Regions from separate parts of the Homo sapiens genome. Here region 2 is linked to region 1. The links are contacts of gene promoters, found by promoter capture Hi-C in blood cells and fetal thymus (Javierre and others, 2016). All regions are on one chromosome and are shown on one strand. Each heading gives the region's core, a stretch centred on a gene start or on the middle of the fragment in contact. The rest is flanking DNA. Distances are from core to core; before and after follow the strand shown.

Region 1 (6,710 bases), core at 2,505-5,004:
GGAGTCAAGTGACAAAGTCCTATGCCCCTTGTATTAAGCACCCGCATGAGAATGTGCGTTGCATCTTATGGGAGACACTACAATGGACCCAAAAACAAGCCATATGGAAGATGAATGCTCGGTTTGTACTGAGTGCTGTTTTCAAAACTACAAGAATGATTTTGAGGAATACATCTGGATGCCACATTAAAATATACAAAATTATGACCATCTGTAGGGGAGGTGGTAACTTTTTACCTGACTGTTGAGACCTGGCCTTGCTTGTGCCTCAGAGGCTCATCCTCTTGGGTGGGATTCACTTCTCTATTGAGTTCTCACTGAGGGCAAGAACTACACATGTTCCTCACCCTAGTGTTGGTTTACGTTTCAGGAATTATATCAAATAATGGCTAATGACTGCCTGATGGGTCTAGCAAAAAATGATGCTTCTTTCCTCCACTGCACCTCACTGTACCTGCTTCTTGACATGGTCGATCTCAGATCTCAGCCTCTGGATCATGCGGTTGATCTCAGCAATCTCCTGCTTGGTGTTGCGCAGGTCGTCCCCATGTCTGCCTGCTGTGACCTGCAGCTCCTCGTACTGCAGCCCAGAGGTGGAGAGAGAGACAGTGTCTACGGGTTCTTACCTGGGAGCGATGACTTTCACTTGTGTATCATGCATGTCATGAAGTGGACCTAATGGCTTCTCCTCAAGAAACTTGAGGAAAAGTTGATGTTATGTGGTGGGTGGATACTAAACTCTGGAGTCACAGACGATCCTCATTATGGCACCACTGCCTGCCTAGTTTCTTTAGGGAGTAGAAATATTCTGTACCAATTTCTAAAAGTCAGCAATCAGGGTGAAGATAAATGCAGAGATGACTATGTCCTTGTCTATGGCAGCTTTCCTCCTGCATTGGGTTCTTTTTCCTCCTTGACTTGCACATAAGTTCCCCAAATGTCTACTCTAATAGTGCAGAGTGCATGTCCTGTGAGAGGACCCCAGCTTCCTGTCAGGGGATGTCCCCAGTGAAGTCTGCAGTCCTCTGGTATTCCAGGATGGACACAAGGATTCCTCAGCAGCTGCCCACTCCCTGCTCACCTTGGTCTGGTACCAGGACTCAGCCTCAGCCCGGCTCCTCTGAGCAATCTCCTCGTATTGGGCCTTGACCTCAGCGATGATGCTGTCCAGGTCCAGGTTGCGGTTGTTGTCCATGGATAGCACCACGGATGTGTCTGAGATGTGGGTCTGCATCTGGGACAGCTCCTGCAGAACAGAAGGTCATAAGATCAACTTCACATCTGACATTTACAGAGATACCCAACCCTATACATCTTCTCCCCTTTGCAGACCCCATCAGAGTAAACAGAAGGATGGTGGAGATGCTTACTGCATCATACAAGGCTCTCAGGAAGTTGATCTCATCTGTGAGAGTGTCTGCCTTGGCTTGCAGTTCAACCTTGTTCATGTAGGCAGCATCCACATCCTGGGGAAAGAGCCAACAACCTGGAGTTACCTGAGCTCACCTTTCCAATCTACCCATCTTCTAGTCCTCCTGCCAATTCTCTCCCAGGGGAGCGAGGACACAGAGCCACTTCTCTCCTTCTAAATGAATTTGAACCCCCGGCTTCATCTGCTCACCTTCTTCAGAGTCACAAATTCATTCTCTGCTGCTGTGCGCTTGTTGATTTCATCCTCATATCTACAGGAAGAAAGGCATAGGACACATATGAGCCAGTGGGTAGGATGAAACAGAAAAGCAGCTTGGGATTCAACAATTTCCTGAATGGAATATATTCTAATTGAGCTTTCCTGCCACAGAGAGCCAAAGAGATGAGTTTTGCTACTACTAAATTTGCCACTTCTTTAATCCCCCCATCCTCCCATAACCATCTGTGGTTCTTGCAGGTTTGCTCCTAGGGACTAATTTGTGCTTTTCATTTCCATGGACATGGGTTGTTAGGAATCCTACACACATCTGGCCCTGGTCACCCAATAGTCTTGAAGTGTGTGCTGCAGGAAATGGAGTCCTCACTTGTTCTTGAGGTCCTCCACCAGGTCCTGCATGTTTCTCAGCTCCGAGTCCAGGCGGCCCCGTTCCCCGACGATGCTGTCCAGCTGCCTCCTGAGGTTGTTGATGTACTGCTCGAACAACGGCTCCAGGTTCTGCCTCACAGTCTTGGTGCCCTGCTCCTGCAGCAGGGTCCACTTGGTGTCCAGAACCTTGTTCTGCTGCTCTAGGAACCGCACCTGGAAGGGAAGCAAGATGGTCATTTTCCAGGCAAAGGAAGGAAGAAAAAGTGTCTGGTATCCAGTTTCCTGGCAGGTCTTGGAGGTCCCCATGGTGCTGGGCTACTACAGTGCATGTGGAGAGGCTCAGGCTGAGCTCTGCTCCCCCAACCCCTTCTCCTTTGCACCCCACCAGTCTCACTAGAGAAATTGTCCCATGGACCATTGAGGTGTTCTCACGCTGTAAGCTATTGATCATCAGTGAGTTTCAACATTTCTTCTCTTCTTTTTCCAGGCACAATCACAAATCTAGTTTAAAAATACTAATTACCTGATATATTGTACACAGTTTTTTTACTGATAGGATCTTAGTTAGGAGAGATATTATATGTTGACTCATGATTACATTTCAGTCTACTTTCCCATTTAGTGTCTCCTCTCAAATATTCTGATGTTATGGTCATTCTCTGTTTTTAAAATTAATTAGCATTTATCCATGTTTTACAGTTGTTTCTATGTCCCTTTTTTTCTTAATCCAGCCAGATTATCTTTTCCTTTTCTTTCTAAATCTTTTTCCTCTTACCCAGACCCCAGAGTGTAATTTACCAGCCCATATACTCCTGGCATTTGCTTTGTAATCTCTTAAACACTTCAGAGGGGAGAATTAACCTACTCCACTCTCTGATGGCCTCATCTGTGCTTCAGGGTTATGAAAAGTTACGGCTCTCCCTAGGCAGGAGTGAGGGCCACTCCAGAGATCCCATGGGGGAGTGATGCCCATCTGTGCTGCCTCCTGTGCACCGAGAGCCACCTGCACTCTCTGCAGAGCTGGGCTGAATCCCCTTCTCCCTCCCTCCTAGGTCTCCCTAGCAGGAAGGTGTTGCTCTTCTGGTCTGGGGACCCTGAAGTGCCCGATGGAGGGCATGGCACTGGCTCACCTTGTCGATGAAGGAGGCAAACTTGTTGTTGAGGGTCTTGATCTGCTCACGCTCCTCGGCCCGCACCCGCTGGATGGCGGGGTCAATTTGCAGGTTGAGGGGAGTCAGGAGACTCTGGTTGACGGTGACCTCTTGGATGCCTCCAGGGGGGCACACAGGGAAGCCAGGGCCCCCAAAGCCACCAGCAAGGCCGGCTCCACCACCCAGACCAAAGCCAATGCCGGCTCCACCACCGAAACCAAATCCACTCCCGGCGCCACCAAAGCCATAGCTGCCTCCGGCTCTGCTGCCATAGCCGCCACTGATGGCACAGCTGCCCCCTCCAATGGAGATCCTCTTGGAGCCCCCCAGGCCATACAGACTGCGGCTGCCAAAGCCAGCTCCTCCACATGCACCACCCAGGCCACCACTGCCCCTGGAGCGGGACACGGAGATGCTGCTGAAGCCAGAGCGGCTGACCCCAGGGAGCCTGGCTGAGTTGGCACTGAAACCCCGGCGGCTGCTGCTGTGGCTCCTGATGGTGGTGGATGTGCTGGCCATGGTTCCAGGAGATGAGAGGGCTGTGGCGAGCGTTGGAGGCTGGAGGCGAGAGGCAGGAGAAGCAGGACAAGGAATCGGGCTCCAGCAGTAGCTTATATATTATGAGAGAGCATGGGCTGGGCCCAGTCCTGGAAGGTGAGCTTGCAGGTTGGGAAGGGCTGGGCTTTACAAATAGTGAGATCACACCTGGATCAGAAAAGTTATGAAATGCTGAGATGGCATTTTTCACTTCCTTTAGTCAGGGAAAATGTTCCTGCCTCCAGCTTTGACTCGAGATTTCAGCACAGTAAGAGCATTCTCAGTTCATGAAGTTGAAGTTAGTCACTGTCTTCAGCAAAGGTTCTGCATGCTAGGCTGTTTATCAACATGCTGTGAGTGCTTTCCTCTTTCCAGCCTGACTTTCTTCCAGCAGAGATGTTGGAGATCACAAGCACTGTATTGCAAATGCCTTAACAGAAATATTAACATTTTTCCTGTAATTATTTTTCCTTCTGTGTGCAATTTCAAACATGTAGAGGAGCAGAACACAATGGGCCTGTATATACCTATTACCTGTTTCCATGATGATTACCTTATGGCCAGTCTTATTTCTTGTATATTTCCACCCGGTTCCCTTATCAATGTTAAATTTTTTTAAATCCCAAAAATATTTGGGATTTAATTCAATATTAATTCAATATTAATCTTTAAATGATAGACCTTTTAGAAATATAACTGAAATATTATTTTGTATTTTAAAAATGTATGTATTTATTAAGTCTTCGCCCTCAAGGAGTTGACTCTAATAAAGATGACAACACAAAAGGAGATAGAAGACATCACATCCAGTGGCATCACTGAGCTAGAAAGAAAGTAATGCTTTACTAGGAAGAAAAGAGCATAGAGAGGGGGTGTAGAGGGGACAGTGGGGAAGGGTAATTTTTTTTCTTTTTTTTTTGAGATAGAGTCTCTCTCTGTCACCCAGGCTGGAGTCCAGTGGTGCGATCTAGGTTCACTGCAACCTCCGCCTCCCAGGTTCAAGAGATTCTCTCACCTCAGCCTCCTGAGTAGTTTGAGATTACAGGTGGCCACCATCAAGCACGGCTAATTTTTTGTATTTTTAGTAGAGATGGTGTTTCGCCATGTTGGCCAGGCTGGTCTCGAACTCCTGACCTCAGGTGATCCACCTGGCTCAGCCTCCAAAAGTGCTGGGATTACAGGCATGAGCCACTGCTCCCAGCCAATTTGTGTATTTATTAACATCAATGTGTCTATTCAATTCTCCAATGTCCTTTTTCATTTATTTCCTTATTGTTTACAATTCTTTTGTTGATAAGACCAGGTTAATTGTCCTGAGTAGTGTTTCAGTCTTTGGGATTTCCTCATTGCTTACTCACAGTGTTTCATTTAAGATGCTACTGTGTCCTCTATATTTCCTGCAAACTGATCATTAAAACTTGAAGCTTAATAAGACTCTCATATACTTAGACTTTCCAGATGTGGATGTAGTAGAATGCCTATTTAAATACTGAAAATTGGCCGGGCGCAGTGGCTCACGCCTGTAATCCCAGCACTTTTTGGAGGCCGAGGGGGGCGAATCACCTGAAGTCAGGAGTTTTAGACCAGCCTGGCCAACATGGTGAAACCCCATCTCCACTAAAAATACAAAAATTAGCTGGTGTTGTAGTGCTTGTCTGTAATCCCAGCTCCTACTCCAGAGGCTGAGGTGGGAGGATCCCTTGAACCCGGGAGGCAGAGGTTGCAGTGAGCCGAGATTGCACCACTGCACTCCAGCCTGGGTGACAGAGTGACATTCTGTCTCAAAAAAATAAATTAATTAAAATAAAAAAATTGAAAATTGTTATTTACACATTCATTTATATGTTTATAAATTGAATATGTAATAAATGTTTAAGGAGAAAATACTTACTAAAGCCATTCCCCAGCCATGCAAACTTTTTATGTGGAAGTAGGCACTGTTACCAGGTCCTTGTGTATCCTTCTAGTAACTTTACTTGGATATGTTTCTGAGCTTTTTCTGGGGAATATGTGAGATTTGTGTATTTGTGTGTGTGTGTGCATATGTATGTGTATGAGAGAGAAGACAGAGGGTGAGAGAGGAGGGGGAGTTTTATATGTAAAGAGTAAGGCCCCTAGAAAGGTATTGTATAGGTGAATTATAGCTAAAGAGAGACAGAGAGAGGTTTGTCTGTGTGTTTTATATATTAAATTTGCATACATATATAAAATATTTTAAAATTATATATATATAAAACACATACACATGTATTATCTTCCAATTAAGTTTGTGTTGTCTCTACTTTGCCTTCGAAATCTATTTTTTTCTCTTTATTCTCTTTTACCACTCTGATCCCTTTTTTTCTGTTTGATTTCTCCATCTTTTCCTATACGTCAATTACTGTGCCTTCAGCAATATCTTTCTTTCCTCTTTGTGCTGCTTTCAGTTGGTCTTCGTTTCGATTGTTCTTTATTGTCTCAATATATTGTCCCTTAGTTCTCTTAATTTATGGAGGTCATCATTTCACTGAAATTTTTTTGCTAACACTTTATTGTGCCTTTTTTCTGTTGAGTGTTAAGTGCCTTTTTTTTCCTCACTCCTTTCAGTTTTAAATGCATAGATCTTTTGTGGGTCCTGGAATGCTTCCTTTCCAACTGGTGCTCACTTTTAATGAGATGAGCATCCTCTGGGGCTGCCATTTACAGGAGGTATTCTGGGAGGAAGGACCCGGGGCATATTCAGGTGGGTTGGAATTCTCATTATGGTACAAGGCTGTGTGAATAATTCTTTTAAACATCAATTCAAAAAAGCCAACAAAGATCACTGCAGAGTGGCTCACAAATCACAGGTTCTCTACTTTCTTTGCCTTACCAACAAAATGATGCCAATGGGCAACAAAATGCTATCAACGTGACTGGGCCACAGGGTGCCCAGATATTCGCTCAAACACTATTCTGGATGTGTCTCTTTGGATGCTTCTGTATGAGATTAAAATCTGAATCTAAATTGTTACCCTTCCTAATGT
Region 2 (6,995 bases), core at 774-3,273, 310 kb after region 1:
CCTATGTCTACCTCTCACTATGTGGTGACCTTGGACAAGGTACTTGACTTCTCTCTCTCCTTATTTTTAAAAGGTGGCATTGATCCTACTTGCAGGATTGTTTTGAAATTTAAATACATAGTATTCAGCAATATATGTTTGGATTTTTAAATTAACATCATTCATCCACAGATAATCCAGGAAGAGGATTTCATGTTGAGTTCTTCCATGAGACATTTATACTCCACCCATCAATTGAATGACAGCCCCTCCTGGTAAGGTCTTTCCTCATATCCTCTGGATCCTTTAAAAGCAGAAGATCACATGCTCTTCCTGGAAAGAAAGCTGAGCCAGGCTCAGCTGAAGCTCCAGGTGAGAGTCCGAAGCAAACAAGAACAGACATAAATGTCTCTGATTCCCTTCCCTCCCTTGGCTGCAGTACTGAGGTGGTGGGTGGCAGCCTCTGATGTGTGGCTCACCTCTGCCACCCTGGCCTAGGCTGGAGAAGCGTGGTGGAGAAAGGTGATGCACAGATCACAAAAGCGCGGGTTTGGGCTGGGTCGCCTAATCCATGTCGCATGAGCCTGCCAAAGCATCACCTTATTTAGCAGATGGGGATTGTCTTCTCAGCAGTTGAATGGAGCTGCTGGAAATACCCAGAGTTGCTATCCTCACCAACATTGCCCTCATTCACTGTAGGATCTTTCAGAACAGTATCTAAAGGGTCTGCCTACTGCCAGCAATCTGAGTTCCAATCCCTCACTGCCAGAACATTCTGTGTAAAGCTTGCCAGATGGCTGAGCACCCTGGATTTTTATTTCCCCACCTATAAAATTGGGGGCACTAAAACCAAGGAGTTATTCCCTCTAACCAAATTGCTCTCTGGTAGTCAACTGCAGTGAGAAGACTTCAGATTGCCTGTAACATAATTATGAGTGGAGGAATGCATCATGAGACAGTAGTCATTATCCTTGGCCAAAGTGAGCAGTCATCCCTCTCCACCACCATCTGCTGAGGATGAGGGAGCCATGGCTGCTGCCTCTTTCTCCATGGAGGTTCGCAGATCCCATTTTCAAGATAATCACCAATTTGTTCTCAAAAATAAAAAAAGAATAATTAACGTTCTGGGTATGCTGCCCCTGGACTAGGAATTAGCATTCTTTTCTTGTTGAAATAAAAGCTTGTCACTAGTGAAGCAATTTTAACCAATGAACAGTAAAAATAATTACCATATAGAGCAAGATTTATAGTGAAAGCTTGATAAAGAAGCAAACATCTAAGTACAACTAAGTCCTTATGTTACTAAGGTCTTAGCTGTTAGCAACCACAATTTGTTCTGATTCTGGTCTTATCTCTACACTTGATTAAAATACACACCAGCTCACCCCTCATTCTTTATCTGGTACTTGGATCTCTCCCAGGGCTTATGCAGGGCAGAATTCTATCTCCCAAGATGGCCCTGATTAAAAGGTTCTGTGATTACATAAATTTGGGAAATGAAAAATCTATAGCTCTTTCCTGGGATTTTAGTAAAGTTGTTTAGTATATTAAAAGCCCAAAGAAGTCCTATAGAAAATAATGTCTTTGCCTTAATTTAATCACAGCTTCCCAAATTTAACAACAAAATCTTTCTATCTTAACATCTACTAACATGCTGTCAAGTATACTCGGGAAACGCTAGTCCAACTAGCCATCCAGGATGGATGAGAATGTGCAGATAGACCAGTGCAGATAGACCAATCAGAGGATTAGGGCATAAGGAGACATCCTCATTCCTGGAGAAAGAGCACTTGCTCCAAGTGAGCTCCTCATCCCTGGAGAGAAAGCACTTGCTCCAAGTGAGATAGCAGGAAACTGAGAGCAGACTAAGGCCTGGGGTTGAAGATGCAGCAAGAAGGGCACTGGGACGCCGAAAACTGAACAGGTTCTCTAAAGACAAGCTCTCCTGTCAATGAATATTTCTCACCAATAAATGGATTTGGCTGAATATTTCCAAAAACCGTGGATATTTCATGGGCATGCTGGATTTTCTGGAACTCAAATAACTTCATCTCCTCCTCTCTTCCCTTGCAGCTTGAAAGAGTGGAAAATATGGAAGCCTTGGAATTAGACGAGCCTGTGTTCAGATCCCAGCCTTGCCACTTTCCAGTTGCATGGCATCAGGCAAGACATTTTACCCTCTGGACCTCAGTTTCCCATTCAGCAAATGGGAGTTAGCACAGCCTCCTCATAGAGTTGCAGTGGGGACTGTAGGAGGTAAAGTTGGAAAACCCTTACACAAAGCAGGTGCTCAACACTTGGCAGCCCTTGTGATGATGATGTCAATGTAGGAAGCCCTCCTAGAAGGTGTCAGTTTGGAAGCTGAAGAGGAAGGAGGAGTTCTAAGGGGTAGCCCAGTTTAGGGTCAAGGCAACAGTGAAGTCTTTGATTATTTTGCAACAAGTTGCAAAGAATCATACTGTCTGTATTGAGAATTACATAAAAGCCATTTTCCCATGTCTGGCCAAGCCATTTTCCCACTACAGGGCCTCGTCAGTAATGCAATCTATCAATCAGCAAATACTTATTGATCTACTACATACTTTTTAGAGGTGTGGGGACTATGTTTCAGTGAAAACAATTTCCTCTTTCAAATCTTAACTCCTATTGCCCATCTGTGAATAGAATTTTAAAACAGCTAACATTGACTGCCTAACATATACAAGTCACTGACAGGTTGTTTACATGTGTCATTTCTAATTGTCACAAAAACTTTGTAAGGTAGGAATTTTCATTCACATTTTACAGATAAGGGCATGAGGTTAATTAACTTGCCTCAAGTCAATTCACTTGCAAGCTTGGATTTTAATCAGACTGTCCAATCCCAAAGCCTGTCGTAAATTCGTGAATGCTTTTCTTCTGCATAGACTTTCAGCAAGTCAAATTACACCATCCCAAAGTGAAAAGTCCACTTTGACATGTAAAGAACCCACCAATATTCTCTCCACCTGACCACCACATGATAGGTTGGACACCAGCCATGTGCAACCTACCATGCTAGCCAGGGCCACCAAGGCACTGGTCAGGACAGTCTCTCAGGGACAGAACACATGGGTGTGCATGGAATTTATAGATGACAAGAGCCGCTCCATCATCTGCAATGTAAAAGGTCTTCACCCTGTTGGAGAAAGAGCAAGAGGCCAGGAGTTTGCGCTGAGCTTAGCTGCTTGCTGGGTCTTAGATGTTGGAGTTGACCACTTGGCCCACAGGAATGATTAGCCACAATCTTCTCTTTCACTTTTTTTTTTTTTTTTTTTTTTTGAGACGGAGTCTCACTCTGTTGCTCAGGCTGGAGTGCAGTGGCACAATCAAGGCTCACTGCAACCTCTGCCTCCCAGGTTCAGGAGATTCTCCTGCCTCAGCCTCCCGAGTAGCTGGGATTACAGGCGCCTGCCACCACACCCAGCTAATTTTTGAATGTTTAGTAGAGACGGGGTTTCACCATGTTGGTCAGGCTGGTCTTGAACTCCTGACCTCAGGTGCTCCACTCGCTTCGGCCTCCCAAAGTACTGGGATTACAGGCATGAGCCACCGTATTTTGTTTTTGCTCACCAAACAGGTAATCAAGATGCACCTTTAAATAATACATTTGTGTTGCATGTTAAAAAAAAAAAAAAAAAAAAAAAAACCCCAACCTTAGAAGGTAATGGTCAGATCTGCCTTGAAGCATCAACTTGTGTTGATGAAAATAGTTTTAAACTTTGTGAATTCCATTGTGGCATCAAGGAGGAACACCCATCATTATCAAGGTATTCTCCCAATCAATCTCAATGGCTTCTCTGTCTGGAGATCAGAACTCCCCAGAGTTAAACGTGGGCCTGCTCACCATCACAGAGCCTTAGCTGTAGAAATCTCGTCTGCTAATGTAGGAACTTCAGGTTTGGTTTCTGGCTCAAAACTATGGAAAGTCGTTAGTCCACATACAAGGGAGGACATCCTAGAATCCAAGAAGACACCAGCCGGCCCCATTCAGCAGCATAGCACAGTAGTTGCATGTGTACACTTTGGATTTGAGGCCAGATCTGCCACTTCCCATCAGTCATGTTACTCTGCTTCTCCAAGCCAGTGTCCTCATCTAGAAAATGAGGATAATTGCCGCCTGCCTCTTATGGCAGTTGCAAAGGATGAAATGAGATGACATATGCAAAATGCCCAGAATATGACTTGCACTAGTCACAAAAGTTAGTTGTTTAATCCAGTTGTTTTTGTTAAATATGTCAGGGCAGTAATTATCTTTAAGAGTCTACCCTACCCTTTTCAAAATCTCATTAGCTTAGTGAAGCTCACAGTGCCTGCTATGTGCCAGGCATTTTGCTGGTCACTGAGGAGCACAAAGATGAATCAGGCAGAGCCATCCCTTCGAGTAACTTCTATCTTAATGTGGAGAACAGGCACTGAAACTAGTCATTTTAATATAATACGGCACATGATAAAAAGGGATAGACAAAGTCCCATGGGAGTCCAGACAGATGCTCAGTGCCATGGAGGGTCTAGGAAGGTTTTCAGAAGGCAGTGCCTGGGTAATCCTCAGTGATGAGTGAGGCAGGGCAAGTGGGTGAAGGCGGGATGAGCATTCCTGACAGAGAACAGAGCATCAAAGGCACAGAGGCGTGAGAAAGCCAGGTTGATACCAGAACTGCAGGCACCTTGTAGGCCATTTGCACAGGTCTTGAAAGTCTCCACATAAGGCCACACTGTTTCCTTGGCTTTTTTCCTATGTCTTCATCCAGAATAAAAGGGCATTTCCGTTTTAAAATAAACAAACTTCGGCCAGGCATGGTGGCTCATGCCTGTAATCCTAGCACTTTGGGAGGCCGAAGCGGGCAGATTGCCTGACTCAGGAGTTCGAGACCAGCCTGGGCAACATGGTGAAAGCCGGTCTCTACTAAAATACAAAAAAAAAAAAAATTAGCCAGGCATGGTGGCATGCACCTGTAGTCCCAGCTACTCGGGAGGCTGAGGCAGGAGAATCACTTAAACCCATGAGGTGGAGGTTGCAGTGAGCTGAGATCATGCCACTGCACTCCAGCCTGGTGGCAGAGCGAGACTCCATCTCATAAAAAAAAAAAAAAAAAACTTCTACAAATACATACTTCCCTCAAATCCACAAGGATCTCTATCCAGTTCAACTATAACCCATATCACTGTAACTAAAGATCTTCTCCCAAGGAGAGAAATGAATGAGACGACCTCTTGTTTGGCACAGCTTTCTCTGCAGTGGCACTGTGGACATTTGAGGCTGGCTGTTTATATGTTGAAGGGGGCTGGCTTGTGTGATGTGGGATGTTTAGTAGCAACCTGGCTTCTACTCTCTAGATGCCAGTAGCACTCCCCGACTTGTGACAACCAAAAATGTCACTAGACATTGCTATATGTTCCCTGGGGAGCAAAATTGCCCCCACTGAGAGTCACAGCATTAGTTCCACCTAGAGTCACCTTCTCCTGCCACCGTCTTCTCCAGTGGTTGACGGAGCTGTCACCATTCAGTCTCATCACCACAGATTCCAAAAGTATCAGATTCTCCCAGCACACCTCCATCAATGGTTCCCTAGGAGAGCCAAGTCACCTTCAGCCTTCAGCCTGGACTGGAAGTGTTGATGGGGATTAGCTCTATCTTAGGCACAACAGAGATGTGTGTTAGACAATGTGTATGCCAGAAGGGCTTGTGAAGGATGTAGTGAAGATTCAGATAAAATGTGTGAAGAAGCATTTTCAGAACTTAAGTGAGTTTTTCTCGGTCATCCCAAGATTATCTCAAGGTTCCCACACTTTTTGTCTTTGTCTTTGTCTTTGCATAGAGGGAGAATACACATGGGCTGAAGTGCTGAGAAGGCAGAGAGAAGAGGCAGTCCAAATCCCAGAAAGTGAGATCTCTGATGCTTGGCTAACAAACACTCCACCCAGTTCTAGGCAAAACAGAGAAGAGTCATGTAGAGATTTACCTGCAAATTACACAAAACGTTACATGCAAAACTTGATCATCAGCAGTCAAGTCTAGATTATCCATAGGCAAGCGCTGAACTACTTTCAAATTCTTGTGGAAAACAACCCTCTGATTTCCTTAACTGAGCCTTTCATAGGTGTGACACTGTTACCACTGATACTTGCTCTGACATGTAGCCTGTATTCTCACAAAGATATAGAAGGAAAACCTGAAATCTAAAAACACAACTTGGTCTTCCTAATGGGAAGTGAACCAGTGAGTCCGCAAGCTCTTAGAACAGGAAAACACTCTTTTGAGCATTTCTTCTGGGGAAGACAGTGTGGGGGTGGTTGGAGGGGATAGATGATGATAGATAGATAGATAGATAGATAGATAGATAGATAGATAGATAGATAGAGGCGTAGGGTAGAAGTTGGTTCCTCTATGTCCAACAATGATAGACTGGATTAAGAAAATGTGGCACATATACACCATGGAATACTATGCAGCCATAAAAAATGATGAGTTCATGTCCTTTGTAGGGACATGGATGAAATTGGAAATCATCATTCTCAGTAAACTATAGCAAGAACAAAAAACCAAACACCGCATATTCTCACTCATAGGTGGGAATTGAACAATGAGAACACATGGACACAGGAAGGGGAACATCACACTCTGGGGACTGTTGTGGGGTAGGGGAAGGAGGGAGGGATAGCATTAGGAGATATACCTAATGCCAGATGACGTGTTAGTGGGTGCAGCGCACCAGCATGGCACATGTATACATATGTAACTAACCTGCACATTGTGCACATGTACCCTAAAACTTAAAGTATAATAATAATAAAGAAAGAAAGAAAAAAAAAGAAGTTGATTCCTCTTTTTCATTGCAAGTGGATATACCTCTCCACACCCAGGAAAGAGAGATGTGGAAGAGAGAGCAAAGAAATTCTTGACCATTGGCCAAAGACCCCAAATCCCAGTTTAGGATCCAGGCTCACAAGTAGGCATTATTCAACAATCACTGTGAGCTCTTTGTGGGCAAAAGTAT

The links. The method cuts DNA at HindIII sites, captures the fragments that hold promoters and counts their contacts. A CHiCAGO score of 5 or more calls a contact.
Region 2: a contact is called between a fragment that was not itself captured here and the fragment with the promoter of KRT6C in region 1, in 1 of 17 cell types (endothelial precursors). The highest score is 6.7, in endothelial precursors.

Annotation. Positions count from the first base shown.
Region 1 is chr12:52,470,051-52,476,760 of GRCh38, forward strand. KRT6C (keratin 6C) reads right to left here and starts at 3,755. Exons shown (of 9, transcript NM_173086.5): 1 at 3,148-3,755; 2 at 2,016-2,230; 3 at 1,622-1,682; 4 at 1,371-1,466; 5 at 1,082-1,246; 6 at 455-580. The coding sequence starts at 3,687. The HindIII fragment of the contact is 8,852 bases long and covers 1-5,127 here.
Region 2 is chr12:52,779,665-52,786,659 of GRCh38, forward strand. No RefSeq gene overlaps it. Among named protein-coding and RNA genes, the nearest start is that of KRT76, 5.8 kb to the left of the region's middle. The HindIII fragment of the contact is 1,580 bases long and covers 1,234-2,813 here.